Linked DNA regions of Homo sapiens: region 2 is linked to region 1. The links are contacts of gene promoters, found by promoter capture Hi-C in blood cells and fetal thymus (Javierre and others, 2016). All regions are on one chromosome and are shown on one strand. The core of a region is centred on a gene start or on the middle of the fragment in contact, and the rest is flanking DNA. Distances in the headings are between cores, read along the strand shown.

Region 1 (5,346 bases), core at 1,926-4,425:
GCTTAAGCAATCCTCCTGCCTCGGCCTCCCAAATTGCTGGGATTACAGGCGTGACCCACTGCGCCTGGCTGGTATCTCGAAGTTAACATGTCCAAAACAAAGGTCTTGACTCATATTCCTTCCACTCTGCCCCAGTCTGCTCCTCCCTCAGTCTTCAGCCTCAATAATGGCACTACCGCCTACTCAAAAGTTCAAGCCAGCAACTTTGAGTTCATTCTAGAAAGCTTGCACCCTCACTCCGCCTCCACTCCATCATGAAATTCCATTCAAAATATATCCAGAAACCATTGCTGCTCACCATCATTGCTGCAACCGCCCTGCCTGAGCCCCCATTGTCACTTGAATGGATTATTGCAATGGCTTCTCCACTGACCCCTGCTTCTCCATTTACCCACTACAATCTTTCTCTATGAAAAGCCACGGTGAGTCTTAAAATGTAAATCAGATCATGTGCCTTAGTTGCTCAAAAACTCCAGTGGTTTCTCAACACACCTAGAATTAAAATCCAAAGCCTCAGCTGGGCGCGGTGGCTCACACCTGTAATCCCAGTGCTTTGGGAGGCCGAGGCGGGTGGATCATGAGGTCAGAGATCGAAACCATCCTGGCCAACATGGTGAAACCCCGTCTCTACTAAAAATACAAAAATTAGCTGGGCGTGGTGATATGTGCCTGTAGTCCCAGCTACTCAGGAGGCTGAGGCAGGAGAATAGCTTGAACCCAGGAGGCAGAGGTTGCAGTGAGCTGAGATCACGCCACTGCACTCCAGCCTGGTGACAGAGCAAGACTCTGTCTCAAAAAAAAAAAAAAAAAAAAAATCCAAAGCCTCTACCATGGTTTATGAGATCCATATGACCTAGCTTGCTGTCTCCATCTCCTCCTTGGCTTCCACTCCCCTCCTTCCTGACTGCCCTCAGCCTCTCTCCTTTCTCTTGCTGTCCCTCAGACACACTAAGTGCTCTCTGGCCTCCAGCCCCTTGCACTTAGTTTTCCCTCTGCCTACAACACTCTTCCCCCAGGCACCTGCATGGCTGTTTTCCACTAACGTCATAGAGGCTTCTGCTTAAAGTCACCTCTTGGAGAGGCTTGTACTGATTACGGGTGACAAGTCATCTTGGTTTGTCTGGGACTGATGGGTTTCAGTGCTAAAACCGCTATAGTCCTGGGCCAACCAGGATGGTTAGTCACTCTGATACCAGTCCTGCTCATTCCCTATACATTTTGTCTACTTTATATTTTACTTTGTAGCACTGATGCCTTATCACGTATTTATTAGTTTTTATTTTCTATCTCCAACTAGAACATCAGCTCCAGGAGGGCAAATACTTCCTGTTCAACTATTGAATCCTCAGCACTGAGCACAGGGCCTGGAATATAGTAGATGCCCAGTACAATTTGACTAATGAATCAATAAATGAATTGATAAATGTTGGTACATATATAAAGTGGAAAATTACACAACCAAAAACTATATAAAACCTATATAAACCAAAACAGGAACATACATGTGATACAATATCAAGCAAAAAACCAAGTTTCAAAATAGTAGGTGTTGTAGGGGTACCAATTTTGTAAAAGAAAAACAAAAGACATGTCTGCACGTACACATTTGTGAGCACAGCTGCCAAAAAAAGACTGCAGGGTCATGACCCAAGGTCACAGCGGGTTCTTAGGTTAGGTTATTTTAACTTTTTTTTTTTTTTTTTGAGATGGAGTCTCGCTCTGTCGCCCAGGCTGGAGTGCAGTGGCGCAATCTCTGCTCACTGCAACCTCCGCCTCCTGGGTTCAAGCAATTCTCCTGTCTCAGCCTCCCAAATAGCTGGGATTACGGGCATGTGTCACGACGCTCGGCTAATTTTTGTATTTTTAGTCGAGACGAGGTTCCACCATGTTGGCTAGGCTGGTCTCAAACTCCTGACCTCAGGTGATCCGCCTGCCTCGGCCTCCCAAAGTGTTAGGATTACGGGTGTGAGCCACTGTACCCGGCCGGTTATTTTAACTTTTATCTTTGTACTATTGTGTAAAGCTTCTCAAGATATTGCTGTTGAGTTAATATTCAAGTACTGAGTTCCTGGTGGGAACCTGGCATGCCCATGGCCCATCACACCCTCCCCCATCACCTTGACTGTGACCCCCATGCCTAAGCAGCCCTCAGTTCCTAAGGCTTTCTTCTCTCTCGCACCACGGTGTTCTAATTTTCTGGCCAGAAGCTGGACATCAATATATTCTCCTAACTCTTCAGACTCCGCAAACTCCCACTCAAGCCCCTCCATGAGTCCTCAAGCCTGTCCCTTTCCTAACTTGCCACAGCCCAGACTTGCCTCCCTCTGTCCCACTGTTACATGGACCTGCTTACAGCTCCCTGGCCCTGCCAAATGGGGTGTGGGGGTGGGACAGTGTCACACAGTTCTCTCTCCTTGGAACATTCCCCAACAAACCTGGTCTTTCCAGCTCACCTTTTCACCTGTTCTCATTGCCTTTCCTGGAAGCCAGATGACCCTCCGATCCCATGCACCCTCTCCTGCTGCTGTCCCTGTCTTCACTGTAACTTGTTCATTTACACGCCTGCCCAGTTCAAGTGCCAACTTGATCTTATTTTGTTCCCACAACCCCACGGGTTAGGAACTATCATCGTCCCTGTTTCAAGGAGGAGAAAACTGAGGCAAGGACAGGGAAGTGACATGATCAAGACAGTTAATAAATGACATAACCAGGATTTGAACCCAGGCCATCTGACTGCAAAGCCCACGGCCTGGAATTTCAGGAAGACAATAGAAAGCTAGAAAAGGAAAAAATGAAGTCAGTGGGAAGGAAGTGAGGATGTAAGTTGGTTAGTTAAGGAGGAAGAAAATTAGGCAGCTGAGAAAGCAGATAGTTGGGAGGGAAGGAAGGAAAGGAAGGAGGGAGAAGGGAAAGAAGTCGCCAAGGAAGAAAGGAAGGAAAGAAAGTAAACAGGTACTAGGAAAGATGTTAGCTAGGTAACTAGTCAATCTGGAGACCAATAGGCGAGCAGGCAGGTATCCTGCTCACAGGTGAGCCTCTCACCTGAAAACTCCAGGTTCCTGCTCAGGTCCTGGGGAGCAGCCCCATGCACGGCTCTGCCCTCTTCTCTCTCTTCATGGTCCTTCTGACTGGAGGCACAATCCTGACTTGTCAAGCAACCTTCCCAGTCAGGAATGACCTGTCACCCACTCGCTCCTGGCTCCCAAACCGGCTCAAGTTCAACCTCCCAGCCCTGCCTGCTGGAAGCTGGCTTCGGGGCCTTCCAGTTACTAATTAACCACTGGACCTGAATTACCAAGCTGGCTGCACACACTGGCTCCTGGATGGGCCCTGCCTGGGGGACTCTCTGAATTTTTTAAAGCACAACTTGTTATGTGACCATGGGCAACTGACTTCAGCTCCCTGAGCCTCATGTGAATTGGTGACGGATGGTGTGTCCTGCTGGAGGGACGGTTTCTGAAGTCCCTTTCAACACTGGAACTGCCGCACTCTCTCAAGGTCCAGCTTAAGTGCTGACTCCTACACAGCCTTCCCTGATTCCCTCCGCTGAGTCATCTTCCCTTTCGCTTGGAACCTAGTGAACCAGCAACTGAAAGGTTGGTCTCACACAACACCCTCCTCCACCCCTTCCCTAATGGGGGCCACCAGCCCCTATGTTCAGTCATTTCATGGAAACTTCCAGGACTGGGCAGCTCATTTCCCCCTGAGCCAGCCTCTGGCAATTTCTTGTGTTAAGCCGAAGACTGCCACCCACAGCCTACCCGACCAAGCACTGCCCTGGCACCGTTCTGGGAGAATCACAGCTGAGTTGAAACCTATGCCCCACTCTGCCCTTCAGAGATTTGAGGCTCAGGAACCAGAGATGAGTTCACCCTGGAGAACAGGGAAGGCTTTCTCGGGGGTTGACCCAAAGCTTCCCAGGCCCTGGGTTCTTTTTTTTTTTTCTTTGAGACAGAGTCTCGCTCTGTCACCCAGGCTGGAGTGCAGTGGCGTGATCTCAGCTCACTGCAAGCTCCGCCTCCCAGGTTCACGCCATTCTCCGGCCTCAACCTCCCGAGTAGCTGGGACTACAGGCGCCCACCACCACGCCCAGCTAATTTTTGTATTTTTAGTAGAGATGGGGTTTCACTGCATTAGCCAGGACGGTATCGATCTCCTGACCTTGTGATCTGCCCGCCTCGGCCTCCCAAAGTGCTGGGATTACAGGCGTGAGCCACCGCGCCTGGCCGGCCCTGGGTTCTAACTCAGGGCACAGGCAGGGCCTGGACCCCTGGACAGGTAAGGAAAGCTCTGCCCAGTGACCCCTCCTGAGCAGGCTGACTTTCACACTGCTTCCTCCATTGCCTTTCCATTAAAATGTCAACAACTTTCTGGTAATTCTGGTGCCTTAAACACCGGCTGCTCTGCTGTGCTCCGGAGGAGCCCTGCATGGCCACACACCCCACCTCCACCAACACACATAGCAGCATGTGTCTGGCCCTGGTCCAGATAGGGGAGGTAGCTGGCCCAAGTGCACAGAGCAAATCAGGGCAGCGCACAAGGTCCTGCCCTTTCCAGAGCTCCTGCTGCTGCTGCTGCTGTGCCACCAAGCTCCCTCTCCTCTGCTCTTCCAGAGCTGCTTAAAAAACCCCCAAACACGCCACATACTGGTATTGGTTGCATAAAGTGTATCAAATAATTCCAACTTACAGAAGAATGTCAAATAAAAAGTAAAAGCTTTCCCTCCAGCCCATCTTCAATCTCATTTCCAGAGGCAGCTGCTGTTAACTAAAGGGTGACAATCCGGCTGGGCGCCATGGCTAATGCCTGTAATCCCAGCACTTTGGGAGGCTGAGGTGGGTGGATCACGAGGTCAGGAGATCGAGACCATCCTGGCTAACATGGTGAAACCCCATCTCTACTAAAAATACAAAAAGTTAGCCAGGCGTGGTGGCGAGTGCCTGTAGTCCCAGCTACTCGGGAGGCTGAGGCAGGAGAATGGCATGAACCTGGGAGATGCAGCTTTCAGTGAGCCAAGATCATGCCACTGCACTCCAGCCTGGGCAGCAGAGCAAGACTCCATCTCAAAAAAAAAAAAAAAAGGGTGACAATCCTTCCAGATTTTTGTCTATGTCTTAATCTATATGTATATTAATCTTAATCTATATGTATTAATCTATATAACTGCATCCATTTTTTTTCCAGAAAATGGGCCATCAGTAATTCACTTTTTTTCATATATACATCTTTTAAGCAGCTGCACCACACTTCATAGTGTGGAGTTTTCACAACCCCTATTCCCTATTTACTGTTCCTTCTGATGGACATTTTGACTGTTAGCAGTTTCACAATATTTCCAACAAGGCT
Region 2 (5,346 bases), core at 1,459-3,958, 1.9 Mb after region 1:
TCCAGCCTGGGCAACAGAGTGAGACTCCGTCTCAAAAAAAAAAAGAAAAAATAGTAATAATAATAAAGAGTTTCAAGGAGAAAACACAGGGTGAGAGAAGGTGCAGTGGGGGGCACAAAGTGGATTTGAATCTGTATATGACACAAAAGTTCCCTGGGACTTAACCAACATCGTGTACATGGCACATGGTAGGAGCTTAATAAATGATGGTTACCCAGATACATGAATAGCTCACTCAAGGTTGTAGCTCACCACTCATAGATTCATCAAAGAAATATTTGTAGGCCGGGCGGGGTGGCTCATGCCTGTAATCCCAGCACTTTGGGAGGCCAAGGCGGGTGGATCATGAGATCAGGAGATCAAGACCATCCTGGCCAACATGGTGAAACCCTGTCTCTACTAAAGATACAAAAATTATCCAGGCGTGGTGGCGTGTGCCTGTAGTCCCAGCTACTCAGGAGGCTGAGTCAGGAGAATCACTTGAATCCAGGAGGCAGAGGTTGCAGTGAGCCAAGATTGCACTCCAGCCTGGGCAACAGAGCAAAACTGTGTCTCAAAAAAAAAAAAAAAAGAAAGAAAAAGAAAAGAAAGATTTGTAGAAAGCCTACCACGTGCCAGGTTCTGTGCTAGGCACCGATGATGTCACCATGAATAAGGAAGTTGAAGTCCTTGCCCCCACAGTCCTTCTTCAGAGAAATCTCCTTTGCAGACATTTTACATGGATCCCTCTACCTCTGTCTTTCTACATTCACAGACTGAATATGAGCCCATATCTATCAGACTTGAAGCCCCCATGGGCTGGTCCAAGGGTAGTACGTCATCCAAATTTATTAACATTAGTGTCACTAAGATTGCTATGCAACGCCCCACTGTGAAATTTGACTTGTCTTTTAAAAAATTAAATTAAATTAAACTAAAAGTTAAAAATAATGCCCACTTGAGTTGCTTCTGAAATATTCTCTTGGTCTCTGAAACCAAGTAGACTTACCCATGTAAAATTATCCTTGATGCAACCTTGGATTTCTATTGGCCTTTGTATTAGTCATCTATTGTTGCTTAACAAATTATACCAAAACTTAACAGCTTAAAATAACAAGCATTTATTATCTCATAGAGCCAAGGTGTGACTTAGCTGAATGGCCTGGCTCATGGTCTCTCATGAGGTTTCTTGCCATTAAGGTGTTAGCCAGGGATTTAGTCTCTGAAGACTCGACTGAGGCTGGAGGATCTGCTCCCAAGGTGGTACTCTGACATGACTAATAAGGTGACACTGGCTGTTGACAGTAGGCTCAGTTCTCTACTACATGGGTCTCTCAAGACTCCTAATGACATGGCACCTGGCTTTCCCTAGCATGACAGAAAGAGAGAGACAAAACCAGAGACAGAGAGACCAAGAGAGAAGCTATGATGTATTTTAACCTGATCTGAGAAGTGACATACCATAATTTCTCCTGTATTCTGTTTTTGGTGGGGTGTTTTTGTTTTTGTTTGTTTGTTCGAGACAGGGTCTTGCTCTGTCACCCAGGCTGGAGTGCAATGGCATGAACACAGCTCACTGCAGCCTCAACCTCCTGGGCTTAAGCAATTATCCCGCCTCAGCCTCCGTAGTATCTGGGACTACAGACTCACACCACCATGCCTGGCTAGTTTTTGTATTTTTTGTAGAGACGAGGTCTCATTTTGTTGTCCAGGCTGGTCTCTAATTCCTGGGCTCAAGCAATCCTCCTGCCTCGGCCTCCCAAAGTGCTGGGATTATAGGCATAAGCCACTATGCCCGGCCCTGCTTCTCCTGCATTCTGCTGGTGACACAGACCATTACTGCTGCTACATGGGAGGGGACCAGATAGGGTTTGAAAACCAGGAGGCAGGATCATTGGTGGCCCTCTTAGAAACTGCTTACCACAGTCTCCAAGAAGAACCCCCTCTCCCCCAAACTCCACCTAAACTCTGGAACAGGGAGGTGTGCAGATTTCACTGTTTCAAACTACGGAGGCCCACAACAAACAGTGAATTTACTCTGTCCTGGAAACTCATGTTTTAAGCCCAGTAGAACTGCTTTTCCTCAATTATACTTGAGCGTCATGCCATAGGCCTGCATAAAAGGACATTATAAGAAACAGCTCCAATTAAGTCACCGCTGTATTGCATCACTGTTCAGTCAGCTGACCCACGGGAAAAATATCTCTTTGGTCTCAGGGTCAGGAAAAGTTGAGCTTCTCCCAAATATTTGTTTTTCTCACATAAAATCTAGAATTTTATTACCACTCACATTTCCCTCTTTACTTTGGCCATTTGGAAGCTCGGAGCCAAATGTGTAAGCCTTTGCTGGTGTTGATCTTTTTGAGCTAATGTCATCCTGGAGTTATTTCTTCCACTTGTTTTCTATTTTCTCCAGCTACCTCAACTTTTTGTCTTATCCTTTTGTATATTTTGTACTTTTGTAATTCCCCTCAAAGCTTTTGTGGATTGAGATGGAGTTTAAATACACAATAAAATTAGTTTTTGCCCAAAAGACTGATGACCTGCATGTGCCATCTAGTGGTGAGAGAGACAACTGCCAGAATAGAAACCTCCCTGATTTTTCAGATGTGTTTTAGATGGGAGAGTGGTGAGTAGTGGGCAAGGGAAGAGGAGGGAGACCGGGCCCCCTCTGTGTGCTTTGTCAGGAAATTGAAACTGCTGAGGATTAAAGAGCCTCTAGGCAGGGCCAAGGAGCAGGTGATTCAATGGCTGGAAATGAAGATGATTTATCAGAATCTGAAGAAACAATCAAAAAATAGTGAAGAATGAGGAAGGCACTGGAAGTGGAAGGGTTAAGAAAAAAAACTGTTAGTAAAAGTAAACAATGAAAATGGACCTAATTGAAGCAAGTAATCACTTGAAAGGTGCTTAATGTAGGTTGATCACAGATGTGACCAGCCATTTTTTAAACATTCACATTAACTGTAGAAAGAAGCTTAGAGTCCAATGTTTTTATTTTACTTGAGAGAAAACTGGGGCACAGAAGCATTGAGCATCTTGTTCAAGGTCATACAGCCTATGAGCCCCAGGTCCAGGGTAACTCCTAGATCAGTCCTCTTTCCCCAGCACCACCCTACTCCTAACTGTATATAGCAGATGCTCATTTGGGCTTTCATTTTGCACACAGGGTTTCACAAGAAAAATGAGGTCATTACATAAAAATGCTGGATCCAGCATATTTTCAATGAATTATTACTAGCTGGTTTTGTAGCTACCCCCCTGACCTACCCCCAAAATGTCAGGGTGGTGGTTCAAAGCACTGGCTTCGTTAATCTTCACCATGTGGCAAGTCATCAGTTCACAATGATAGAGAAGGATTCCAGAAGCCAATGGCAGTAGGTGAGGGAGCCCCAATCTGGGGAAGAGAAAGTAAATTCACTCATCTACCATGTTAACCTAGCATCTGCTCTGGGCCAAGTTCTAGGCAGTTTGCTGGGGTGGCAATATCAACAATGCACTGGCCATGTCTGGAGCTATACGTATCCCATCTCCCTGTACCCTGACCTGTGTTCTTGGACACAACTTCAGCTAAAACTGAGGCATAGCTTGGATCTGGAGGGCCCTTGAAGACCTAGCCCAGGGATCTGTAGTCTCAAGTTGAATGTCTTGGAAACAGCCTGAAGTCAGGAACCAATGAGGGGGCTGGAGATACTGTCTAAAAAGGAACTTGAGACATTCCCATACTGGAAAGCACAAATATGGAACATTTTACTCATCTGAAAGAGTTCTATTAAACAGCACTGGCCAAGAGTGCCCTTTCCTGGATTTTCTGCTCCTCTGAGTCCTACCAGTTCTCCTAAGCCCTTCAGCAGCTGATATCAGCAGAGACTGATATGAGTCACTGATTCCTGGAAAAGACAGAACTCTGGTACAATGGCTGTTCCAAGTTGATGTCCTCAGAGGTACAAATGACACACCAGAGACAGAAGTTGTTTCTTAAACTTTCCGGGCTTCTGTGCTAGTAACGGGTGCCAGATGGGGCAAAAAGAACAGAAGGAATATTGAGGGGCTCAACCTTTGAGATCAGAAAGACCCAATTTCCTACCGAGGTTCTCCATTACTAGTTGGGTAATCTTTAGGCAGAGCCTTTGGGCACCAGTTTTCTTAGCAGCAAAAACTGAGAACTATGATTGTCACAAAGATTAAATGAGACAGTGGATGAGACAGTATCTGGCTCATGGGTAAGTGTAGATTTTTTACTCATCTCTTCTTGCGTCCTTTTGGATGCTAATTTCCACTCTGCCAAGGATAAGAACCACATGTCACCTTCTCATCAGGTGACAAGTGGAGGCTAGTCATGGCTAGCTGTTCCACTCATTCTCTTAATGAATATTTGTTATGAAAACAGCAATGGCCAGGTGTGGTGGCTCACATCTGTAATCCCAGCACTTTGGGTCACCTGAGTTCAGGAGTTTGAGACCAGCCTGACCAACATGGTGAAACCCCATCTCTACTAAATACAAAAAATTAGCTGGGCGTGGTAGCGCATGCCTGTAATCCAGCTACTTGGGAGGCTGAGGCAGGAGAATCACTTGAACCCGGGAGGCGGAGGTTGCAGTGAGCCGACATTGCACTGGACTCCAGCCTGGGCGACAGAGCAAGAATCCGTCTCAAAAAAAAAAAAAAAGAAAAGAAAGAAAGAAAAGAGCAACTGCCAGGCCTTGTGTTCTGCATCATACAAAGATAGAAAACACATCCCCAAGAGGAGGAGCTCACTGTCTCTTGGGAAAGACTGGTAGGCAAACCAGTAGTTACACAGCAGGGGGACAAGAAGTGAATTGAGAGTGCACAAGGAGAGCACAGAGGTGATGATATTTCAGCCAAGACAAAGTGTGAATAGAAGTTTGCCTGATCAGCAAGCACATAGGAGAGGGCATGCCAAGCAGAGATAACAGAACTTGCAAAAAAGGAAGACTGGAAAGTGAGGTAAATCCAATTACGAAGGTCTCTGAGCACTGTGCTGAGGAGTTTGAGCTAAAACTTGTAGGGGACACAAAGCCTCTAAAGGAAAGTCAAGTCATCATATTTGAGTACTGAAAATATTCCTATACTGCCAGTGTGGATATGGTTTAGAAGAGGCAAGACTAGGCTGGGTGCAGTGGCTCACACCTGTAATCCCAGCACTTTGGGAGGCCCGGCGGGTGGATCACCTGAGGTCAAGAGTTTGAGACCAGCCTGACCAACATGGAGAAACCCCGTCTCTACTAAAAATACAAAATTAGCCGGACGTGGTGGCGCATGCCTATAATCCCAGCTACTCATGAGGCTGAGGCAGGAGAATCGCTTGAACCTGGGAGGTGGAGGTTGCGGTGAGCCAAGATTGTG

What was found. The method cuts DNA at HindIII sites, captures the fragments that hold promoters and counts their contacts. A CHiCAGO score of 5 or more calls a contact.
Region 2: a fragment that was not itself captured here is called in contact with the fragment with the promoter of SGK2 in region 1 in 1 of 17 cell types (M0 macrophages); the score reaches 7.8 in M0 macrophages.

Annotation. Positions count from the first base shown.
Region 1 is chr20:43,556,856-43,562,201 of GRCh38, reverse strand. It overlaps SGK2 (serum/glucocorticoid regulated kinase 2), which reads right to left and starts at 3,175. Exons shown (of 13, transcript NM_170693.3): 1 at 3,043-3,175. The HindIII fragment of the contact is 1,890 bases long and covers 2,026-3,915 here.
Region 2 is chr20:41,695,167-41,700,512 of GRCh38, reverse strand. No RefSeq gene overlaps it. Among named protein-coding and RNA genes, the nearest start is that of CHD6, 79 kb to the right of the region's middle. RefSeq lists a silencer at 1,009-1,303. The HindIII fragment of the contact is 500 bases long and covers 2,459-2,958 here.